2 separate regions of the Homo sapiens genome follow, and region 1 is linked to region 2. The links are contacts of gene promoters, found by promoter capture Hi-C in blood cells and fetal thymus (Javierre and others, 2016). All regions are on one chromosome and are shown on one strand. The core of a region is centred on a gene start or on the middle of the fragment in contact, and the rest is flanking DNA. Distances in the headings are between cores, read along the strand shown.

Region 1 (4,501 bases), core at 440-2,939, 120 kb after region 2:
CCTTTTGTTATATTTATCTTATTCTTCCTCAAGTAACAATTATATGTATCCTATCCACCCTTTTACCCCCTAAAGTCATTACAGAACAGAAGAAAGACACTTTGGGAGGCCAAGGCAGATGGATTGCCTGAGGTCAGGAGTTCGAGACCAGCCTGGCTAACATGGTGAAACCCCCTCTCTACTAAAAATACAAAAATTTTCTGGGCATGGTGGCGCATGCCTATAGTCCCAGCTACTCAGGAGGCTGAGGAAGGAGAATCATTTGAACCCGGGAGGCAGAGGTTGCAGTGAGCCAAGATCATGCCACTGAACTCCAGCCTAGGTGACAGAGTAAGACTCTGCCTCCAAAAAACAAAAAGAAGAAGAAGAAGAAAGAGTTTCTGAATTGTTAGCCACTCAGAGCTAGAAGGGCTCTTAGATATCATCACCTCTGACTCCCATTTTGCAGGTGTGGAAAAGCAAAGGGTCTGACCTAAGGCCACCCAGTGGGTCAACGGCAGAGCTGGGGTGAGGACCCAAGTCTACTGACTCCTCGGTGCTGGCTCTTCCTGCTGTGCCAGGCTGCTTTCCAGCCACTCCCTTTTGGTTGGCTCAGCCCCTCAATTCAGAGGACAGTGCTGAGTATGCGACAAACACGTCATAAATATCTGTCCATTAATGCAAAGCAGCCTGGGGTGCACAGGCCTCAGCCTCTCCATGGCCCTTGGCTTGAGCTTCACATCACCTGCATCGAGACTTCCCACAGCACCAGCTGCCCATCAAATGGAGAACTGGCACCTGGGGCTTCTGGTGGCCTAGATGTAGAAAGACCCCATGTGGCTTAGAAATGCAATCCCCGTTAGGCCAGAGTTATGAACCAAGCCCTGCTGAGTAATCTTAGGCAAATGACTTCACCTCTCAGGTGTTAGGCGTTCCTCCAGACAGGTGGGATGCCTAGAATAGACATGAAGAAGAATTCCCCAAGCCTATCAGATGATTATAGGCACAAGACAGTCTTTGTCAGAGGAATTTCAAAATCCTGCTTCTAGAAGGCTTTAAGGACAGGAAAGGTTCTGGTCTACCTGGGACAAACAGATAGTTCCATCAAAATTGTGTTACAGCGTGAGCTTGGATAGTCCCCTAGACTCCATGTCCACCTTCTAGATTGATGAGGACAGGAGCCAACAAGTCTTTAGGGCTGTTTGGAAACATTCTAAATCGAGTAGAACCCTTTACTATTATTATTAAATTATTATTCACAAGCTCAATGCCAAAAATAGAGATGACAATGGCATCATCTCTCTAAAGCCTTCCTGACCCACTCAGTAGGAAAGATCATTCCCCTCTCTCTGTCCCCCCACCCCATCACACACATATCAGTATGTCTTATAGCTTCCAGATGTTTTCTCATATCTACACGTTTAGGTGTCTGTCTCCCTCTGTTAGATATGAGCTTCTTGAAACTAGGACTCACAATTTACTCTTTCCTGCATGCTATGCACTTAGCCCAGGGCCTAGCTAATAAATAAGGACAAATGCTGGTCAATGTTTAGCAAGTTAAGGAATCCCCTCCACCTCCAATACTGGAACAAGGGTGCATGTAGGCCTTTCGGAGCCAGTAGATGCATGCAGATCATTTGAGGGATGGGAACTCTTGGAGGGAAACTGGCTGACCCAAGGTTATTCAGTTATTGAGAGGGCTCAGACTAAAAGCAACCCTTTGGACACCCAGTCCAGTGCACTTCCAGCTAAACATTTTCTAGGTTCTATGATACACTGGTTGTACGACTCTGGGTAAGACCCTTCGCCTCTCTGCCCTGGCTTTCTCACTTATAAAAATGGGTAAATTTATATATAGTGCCTACATAATGGGATGATCTGAGCAGTAAATTATTGAACCTGTGTAAAACAGAGCACAACACATAAGAAGACTAAAAAAGTGTGTCTGTCCTGACTGTCATTCAGGCCTAACCATTATCCTCGGTAAAGGGGCATCCACCAAACATCAGCAAAGCAGGGCTCACGGTGAAAGGAAAACTCTCCATTCCTGGTTCACACAGTTTTCAACCAGGAAGTACCCTGCACCAATCACCTGGGAGAAATGCCTGATCTCTCACCGTAAATTGTTCACAGCTTCTTCTTCTCCAAACCCCTGTTCCCACCTGCAAGTGCACACACAGCTCACAGCATCAGCAAGGTATGCATGAAGAGGCAGCGAAACCTTTGGAAGGGGACGATGCAGACAGACCTGGTGTCGGATAGCAGTTCTAGCCGCGCAACCCTCAGCAAGTCACTTAGTCTCTCCAAGCCTCAGTCTCCCCATCTTTGAAATGGTCATAATTTTCTTTAAGGATTACCTGAGACAGTTAATGGTCTGGGACTTCATAAATGACGTTGAGGGTAATCATAGTTGTCTGATTTTTATTTAACAAAATCCACTCGACAGAATGTCAGAAGCAGAAGGGGTCTTAGAAATCACTTAGTCCAGTCCCATCATTATATAGATGGGCACACAGAGGCCTTGAGGGGAGGCCTGACTGGCCCAAGGTCACATAATAAGGCAGTGGTTCAATGGGACATGGGACCTGGGTCTCCTGACTTTCTACTGCATATCCATGTTGTCCCACTTGATTCTAATTACCTGCTCTCCTCCCTCAAACACAGAAAATGGCTAGAATCATTCCCTTCCCAATCCTCCTCCCTTCACAGTCATCTCACACCAGCTGGCACCATCTGGATCCCTTTTTGCCAACATCACCACCCTCCCAGGCACATCTGGCCCCTTTTGGTCTAGTCAGGAGCCCTAGAGGAGTAGGCGAAGCATCTGTTAATCACCAACAATAGCAATAATAACAGTAGCTGTAATAGCAATAATAATGACAACCAACAACCTGGACGATGTCCTACACTAAAAAGGGCTTTCACCTACATAATCAACACATTCCTACAGTTTCTCCCTAACCTAGTTGGCTTAGGGACATAATTTCCTCAAGTTTGTTTCATTCAACACTTACGGAGCACCTACTTTGGGCCTACTCATGGGCCAGAGGCTGGAGATAGAGAAAGGAAAATGATAGGGCCTCTGCCAAATAGGAATTTAGGGTGGGGGTGGGGGGACATGACAACTTCTTTTGGCCCAAATGGTGCAGCAGCAAAATTCCCCACCCAACCCTATGGAGAACCTCCTTTATCATGCTGTCAAAAGGCAGGAGGTATCTGGAATAAAGAGGAGCGAGAAAGGCTTGAGTGCTAGGCTGAAAATGACAGCAGGAAGGAAGATAAAGAATCGAAAATACAAGCACCAAAAACTTGACTGCCTGGCCTCAGGGTGACTCTAGGGAGACACTCCAGGGAGGGCAAGAGAGCCACAGTGGGATTCATGTGAGATCCGGAAGACCTGATCCCTGCCCTGCTGCCAGCACACAAGAATCTGCTGCTTCTGTTCCCTCAGAGACTCCGCCCTTGGATGCCAGGATTTTCCAAACCCAATGCTGGGCTACAGTCCTCCTTGGGACCATCATTTGCTAGAATGATGTCACAACCTTTGCAGTGGAAATGTTGCTGCCTGCCTAGGCCCTCAGCCTGGTGACCCAATACACTTCAGCATTCATTACCCCTGGCAGGGACACCATCTGCAGGGGTGTGGAAGAGACAGGCAGGGGATGGGGAGGAGAACAGGACTAAAAGCAGTCACCTCTTCCTCTCTTCCCCCAGCCTATCTCCCAAGTCCTGAGTTCCTGAGAACCTACTATGTGCCAGGCACAGGCACTATTTTAGGTGCTTCCACATACATCTCATTTAATTTTCACATCAGCCCTCTGCGGGCTGTACCCCTAGATTTACAGATGGAGAAACTGAGGCTGGGGGAAGGGAAGTCACTTGGCAGCTCAGGGATGTCAACATAGGACTGTCTGGCACCTCCAGCTCCTTGAGGCCCACAAGGTCAATGTTTCACTTAAGAAGTCAGAGTTGAAAGAGATCAACTGAGGAAACCCCAATTATTTCATGAAACTAAATTTAAATTGCCTTAGCAGAGGGGTCCCCCTGACATGTAAAAGCTGCTTGAGTGATATACTAAAATTATACACATCATTTAATCCAATTCCTGCATCTAACAGATGAGCAGACAGACACCCACGCCTAGAGAATTTTAAAATGGCTACTTGTGGCCAACTAGCAAGTTAAGGGCCTAGAACCCCAATCTCTGGCACTTTCCTTACACGACTCTGCCTGCAGAGATCACCTTTTTCTAAGAAGCTCCTCCAGCCCATCCCGACACCACCAGATGGGCAGAGAAGGCAGAGGAAACGGGCAGCATGTGACCGGCCTCTCTTTCAGTCTGCAGGGTTGGGGAAGGGAATATGGGGCTCCCCAGGCTAGTAGGTGTTGCAAACAGCCCAGATCCCGGCTGGGGAGTGGAAGGCTTCACATCCCAGGGAAGCTCCGGGGAGACGGAGGCTCAGATCGTCCACTCTAGGACTTATGGGCATTTTTTCCCCAGATCTACTGCAGGGCCCTGATG
Region 2 (4,680 bases), core at 1,894-4,393:
TATATATAAACAGAATCTAAATTAATTTAGAAAGGAACTCTCCCAGTTACTTCAAAAAATCAGATAAATGCTTAATAAGTGCCCCTTGTCCCCAGGTCCAATTCATCTTAGGTCTGGTGGCAGAACTGATAGCTACATGCTTTCCTGTGTTTTCCCAAAGCACTGAGGAAGAAGTGGTGCAAATGTGAGGTTCTTGGGGAACCCCCATCTATATAAACAAAGCTTATATCCATGGATTGAGATGGCCACTGTCTCAAAGGCAGGTCTATGTTTTGAACCGATACCCAATTCAGAGCCATGAGAGAGACCACAGGATGAATGTGAGGCAAGCCTTATTCTGCTAGGCTTCAGGGAAAACGGAATCCAGGAACTCTCTCGCCCCTGGTTGCTCTCATTCTCCATCATTTATTCTCGCTGCAGTCTGATTTTCTCTAGGTGGTGTGAAGCAGTGTCCTGGCGACTGCTGGGGCCCTCTTTTTAATTTCATCTTTCGATCTCCATTCTTCCATTCTATGAGCACAGAACCTCTGATTTTAGTTGGGTGTGTGTACACCCAGAATGAAGACTTTATTCCCTAGCCTCCCATGCAGCTAAATTTGACCATATAACTAAGTTATAGTCAATGTGAAGTATAACGGGAAGAGATGTGTGCAATTCTAAGTCGTACCCTTAAAGGAAAAGGGAATGTACCCCCCATTCCTCCTTTCCCCCTTCCCACTAGCTGAGATGAAAATATGTTGGAGAGCCAACTTGGACCATGCATATGAGGGTAGGATTCTAAGGATGGGGAGCCACAAGTAGAAGAAGGATGAGTCCCTGGGCAGCCTGTGAAGTCCTACCTGCACTGAACCACCTGCCTCTGAACTGTTACATGAGAGAGACAGCAACTTCAGCCTCTTTTCAGCCACAGTTAATTTGGTTCTGTTACAGCCTGTATTCTTACTACATTAAAATTTCCAAAGCAGTCACGAGCTCACTGAGATTTTAGGAAAGGGGACATAGATGAGGGTTGGGGTGTCAAAAAACTGTGAGGTCATGTTTAAAACACTACAGGAGCTGGTATGGTTTAGTTCTGTGTCCCCACCCAAATCTTATCTTGAATTGTAATCCCTATAATCCTGAGGTCAAGGGAGGGACCCGGTGGGAGGTGATTGGATGGTGGGGGTGGTTTCCCCCATGCTGTTCTCATGGTAGTGAGTGCATTCTCATGAGAAATGATGGTTTTATAGGTGTTTGACAGTTCCTCTTCACATACTCTCTCTCATGCCTGCTGCTGTGTAAGATATGCCTGCTTCCCCTTCTGCCATGATTGTAAGTTTCCTGAGGATTCCCAGCCATGCAGAACTGTGAGTCAATTAAACCTCTTTCCTCCATAAATTACCCAGTCTCAGGAATTTTTTTTTTTTTTTTTTTTTTTTGAGACTGGTTCTCACTCTGTCACCCAGGCTGGAATGCAGAGGTGCAATCTTGGCTCACTACAACCTCCGCCTCCTGGTTTAAGCAATTCTTATGCCTCAGCCTCTCAAGTGGCTGGGATTACAAGCCTGTGCCACCATGCCTGGCTAATTTTTTTGTATTTTTAGTAGAAACTGGGTTTCACCATGTTGGCCAGGCTGGTCTTGAACGCCTGGCCTCAAGTGATCTGCCCGCCTCAGCTTCCCAAAGTGCTGGGATTACAGGCATGAGCCACCGTGCCCAGCCTCAGGTATTCTTTATAGCAGTGTGAGAATCGACTAATGCAGAAGCACACACACACACAGATCAGAGAAAGATTAGTCACATGTGCCTCCTTATGTCCTAGACCATGTCACAGTGTTCTCTTGCGTTACAGTGCCTCTGCAGGTACTGCTCCTTCTGCCTCCCCTTACCCCAACACATACACACAATTGGCCTTCTAACCTTGGCTAAACCTGGCTAAACCTGGCTAACTCAGGGAAATATCTGACCACATTCCAGACTAAGTGAGGCATCTCTGTTATATTAACACGCCCCTCACAGCATGTATTACTGTCTCATAATATTACAGATTTGAAACTTTACATTTATTCCGTATCTTTTTTTACTTAAACAGGTTATTTGATTATCTCTCCCACATCATACGTAGATTCTGTGAGGTCAGGGACTAAGTCTGACTCCTTCACCGCTGTATCCTCAGCACCTAGCACAGTACATGACATACAGAAGGTGCTTGTCAAAGTCAAAATAAAATATGGAGATGAATCTCTAAATGTAATGTTTTATTTGGGGAAGCGAGAATCGCAACTCGGAGCATACACACAGATCTGGTGGTCTTTGGTATGTCCGAAAAACAAAGAGAAGGCTGGGCGTTTTATTAGAAAGGGAAATGCATTGGCACTAGTAAAGTTTCAGGGAGCTGGCAAGCTCTGATTGGTGACTGACAGTGGTAAGTAAAACTAGTATTAGGTTATGGCGGGTTGTTTCAGCAGTTACTAGCTGAATCTGGTCTCAGGGGGACAGCAGGCCATTTCCGCAGCAGTTAGTGGAAATATTGGTTCTTGGAGCAGGCGCTGCGTGCCTCCAGTGCTTTTCCCCTGGCCCCTGGATTCTGATTCCGTTGGGCATAAGAAGAGTGACCCAATTCGTATTATCAACTTTCACATGCTCAATAAGAATGTATGCATGTAAGCTATGGGTGAGTGAATGAATTTGGACAACTCCTCCTCCAGTGAAGAAAAGCAGAACTTACAACCTTGAGCCACTTATAAAATACTAACATACTACCACCACCTGTGCGCTGTCTTCTCAGAACCATGCTCTTCCCAGGATGAGTAACTGTGTGCTTCTAAGTGGAAACCTGATGACAGTCACCCAGTCAGTGACTGGCGGACCCCCTATTATTACTCCCATTCTTTGGGCAGGGAGATGCTTAACCGGCTGGAAGCACAGAGGAAGGGCAGGAGAACGAAGCAAGTCACCCGGCAAACACAGCTGTATCCGGAGGCCTCCGGGCTTCCGGAGGTCTCGGGGCTTCTGGGCTTCCGGTCCCTCTTCCGGAGGCCTGGGTTTCCGGGACGTCGCGCGCCGTGTGGGGCGCGCACGCAGGGCTGGGCGTGAGGGGGCGTGCGCGTGCGCAGGCGACGCGCCGAGGTACTAGGCAGAGCCGTGGAACCGCCGCCAGGTCGCTGTTGGTCCACGCCGCCCGTCGCGCCGCCCGCCCGCTCAGCGTCCGCCGCCGCCATGGGAGTGCAGGTGGAAACCATCTCCCCAGGAGACGGTGAGTAGTGGCGCGCGGCGGCTCGGAGTACCTCTGCCGCCGCGCGCATCGGCTCAGCATGCCCGTCTCTGTCTCCTCAGGGCGCACCTTCCCCAAGCGCGGCCAGACCTGCGTGGTGCACTACACCGGTGAGTCGGGGGCCCAGCGGGGAGGGGGCCCGGGCCGCAGTCCGCAGCCCGGGTGCGGCTGGCCGTCGAGGCCTGGGGGCCCGGGGCCTGGGGTCCGGGGCGTGGCGGCGGCGAGGTCCGCATGGCCCGAGGCTGAGGCCTGGGCGGTGGCTCAGGGGCAGCCTGGGGCTTGCGGAACCCGGGCGGGTCTGAATCGGCGGCTGTGAGCGTCGGCTGCGGGCTAGGTGTTATCTGACCCGTCAGAAGCATTTCTGCACCTTAGATGCTGCCCTTATGCCCGCTGCACAGATGAGGAAACTGAGGCTTGGCGAGGCGAAGTCACTTTCCCAAGGTCTCACTTTCCCAAGGTCACACTTTCAGGAATGGGCAGAGCTCTGGCCAGGGACCATTAGGAAGGATTTGTACCATTTCTGTGCCCCTGCCCCCACTTCCATCCCTCCCTTCACTGGAGATGAGGACGAGGTAATTCCGAGTCTGCAGAGCTGCTGCTTCCTCCGGGGAACTCGGAATTCGCCCCTTTGCCTAGGGTGGGGAAACATCCCACTTCCTAAGTCATTGCTTTGGCCCTTCCTGGCCTTGGGGGAAGTAGAGCTGCACGGCCTTCTTCCGTCTTTTTACTTTTGAGCCACTTACAAATCCAAGGCTCAGTGACAGCGCTGGCTCAGGCTGACCGAAAGCTGCACGTGTAATTTAGTCCCCCAGCTCTTCTAGAAGTAGAGACTTTTCTCGTCCTCATTTTAAAGATAAGCATCTGGAGGCTAATACATAGTGATAATACAAGCCAAAGGAAATTTTAGACACCTCCCCCTCCCCAGCCAGAATTCAGACATCAGAGTCGTGTGCCTTGGGGCTGTCTTACTCCTTCTCCTTACAAGCTTGTCCTGGTTTGTATGGGGGCGGGGGAGGGGGAGAGCTGAGTTGGCGGAGACTCAGTGGCTGTGGGTCCCACAAGGGTGGCAGTGATTGGTGTAGCCACAGTTGTTGATACGAATAACCTTCCCTCCCCCTCCTCCTTCCCCTTTCTCAACCTTCCCACCCTTTCCTCTGTTCCCCCTCCTCCTCCCTCTTTTTTTCCCACTCCCTCTCCTCCTCTTCCTCCTCCTGGGTAGTAGGCTGTGGGCAGTTCTGGCCAAGTTGCTCACGAATAAGCTCCACCTTTCTCTTCCAAATCATGGAAACATGGAGGGATCCCTCTATTGAGGGAAATGACTTTCACTGGAAAGAGGAAAAGGCAACTAACATCCCCCCTCCCATGCCCTTTTATTTCTGTGGCCCTTCCCCGTGGGTAGAAATGGGGGCAGGAGGTAGAAGTTAAGG

Evidence for each region. Contacts are between HindIII fragments. The CHiCAGO score rates a contact against its expected background, and 5 or more counts as called.
Region 1: a fragment that was not itself captured here is called in contact with the fragment with the promoter of FKBP1A in region 2 in 1 of 17 cell types (naive CD4 T cells); the score reaches 5.8 in naive CD4 T cells.

What each region holds. Positions count from the first base shown.
Region 1 is chr20:1,267,204-1,271,704 of GRCh38, reverse strand. The region is part of intron 2 of SNPH (syntaphilin); the gene reads right to left. Among named protein-coding and RNA genes, the nearest start is that of SNPH, 3.2 kb to the right of the region's middle. The HindIII fragment of the contact is 5,874 bases long and covers 1-4,501 here.
Region 2 is chr20:1,391,517-1,396,196 of GRCh38, reverse strand. It overlaps FKBP1A (FKBP prolyl isomerase 1A), which reads left to right and starts at 3,143. Exons shown (of 5, transcript NM_000801.5): 1 at 3,143-3,235; 2 at 3,316-3,363. The coding sequence starts at 3,199. It overlaps FKBP1A-SDCBP2 (FKBP1A-SDCBP2 readthrough (NMD candidate)), which reads left to right and starts at 3,025. Exons shown (of 10, transcript NR_037661.1): 1 at 3,025-3,235; 2 at 3,316-3,363. It overlaps MIR6869 (microRNA 6869), which reads left to right and starts at 3,236; the gene lies at 3,236-3,297. RefSeq lists silencers at 3,087-3,136, 3,337-3,436, 3,447-3,516 and enhancers at 3,251-3,751, 4,543-4,680. The HindIII fragment of the contact is 4,016 bases long and covers 225-4,240 here.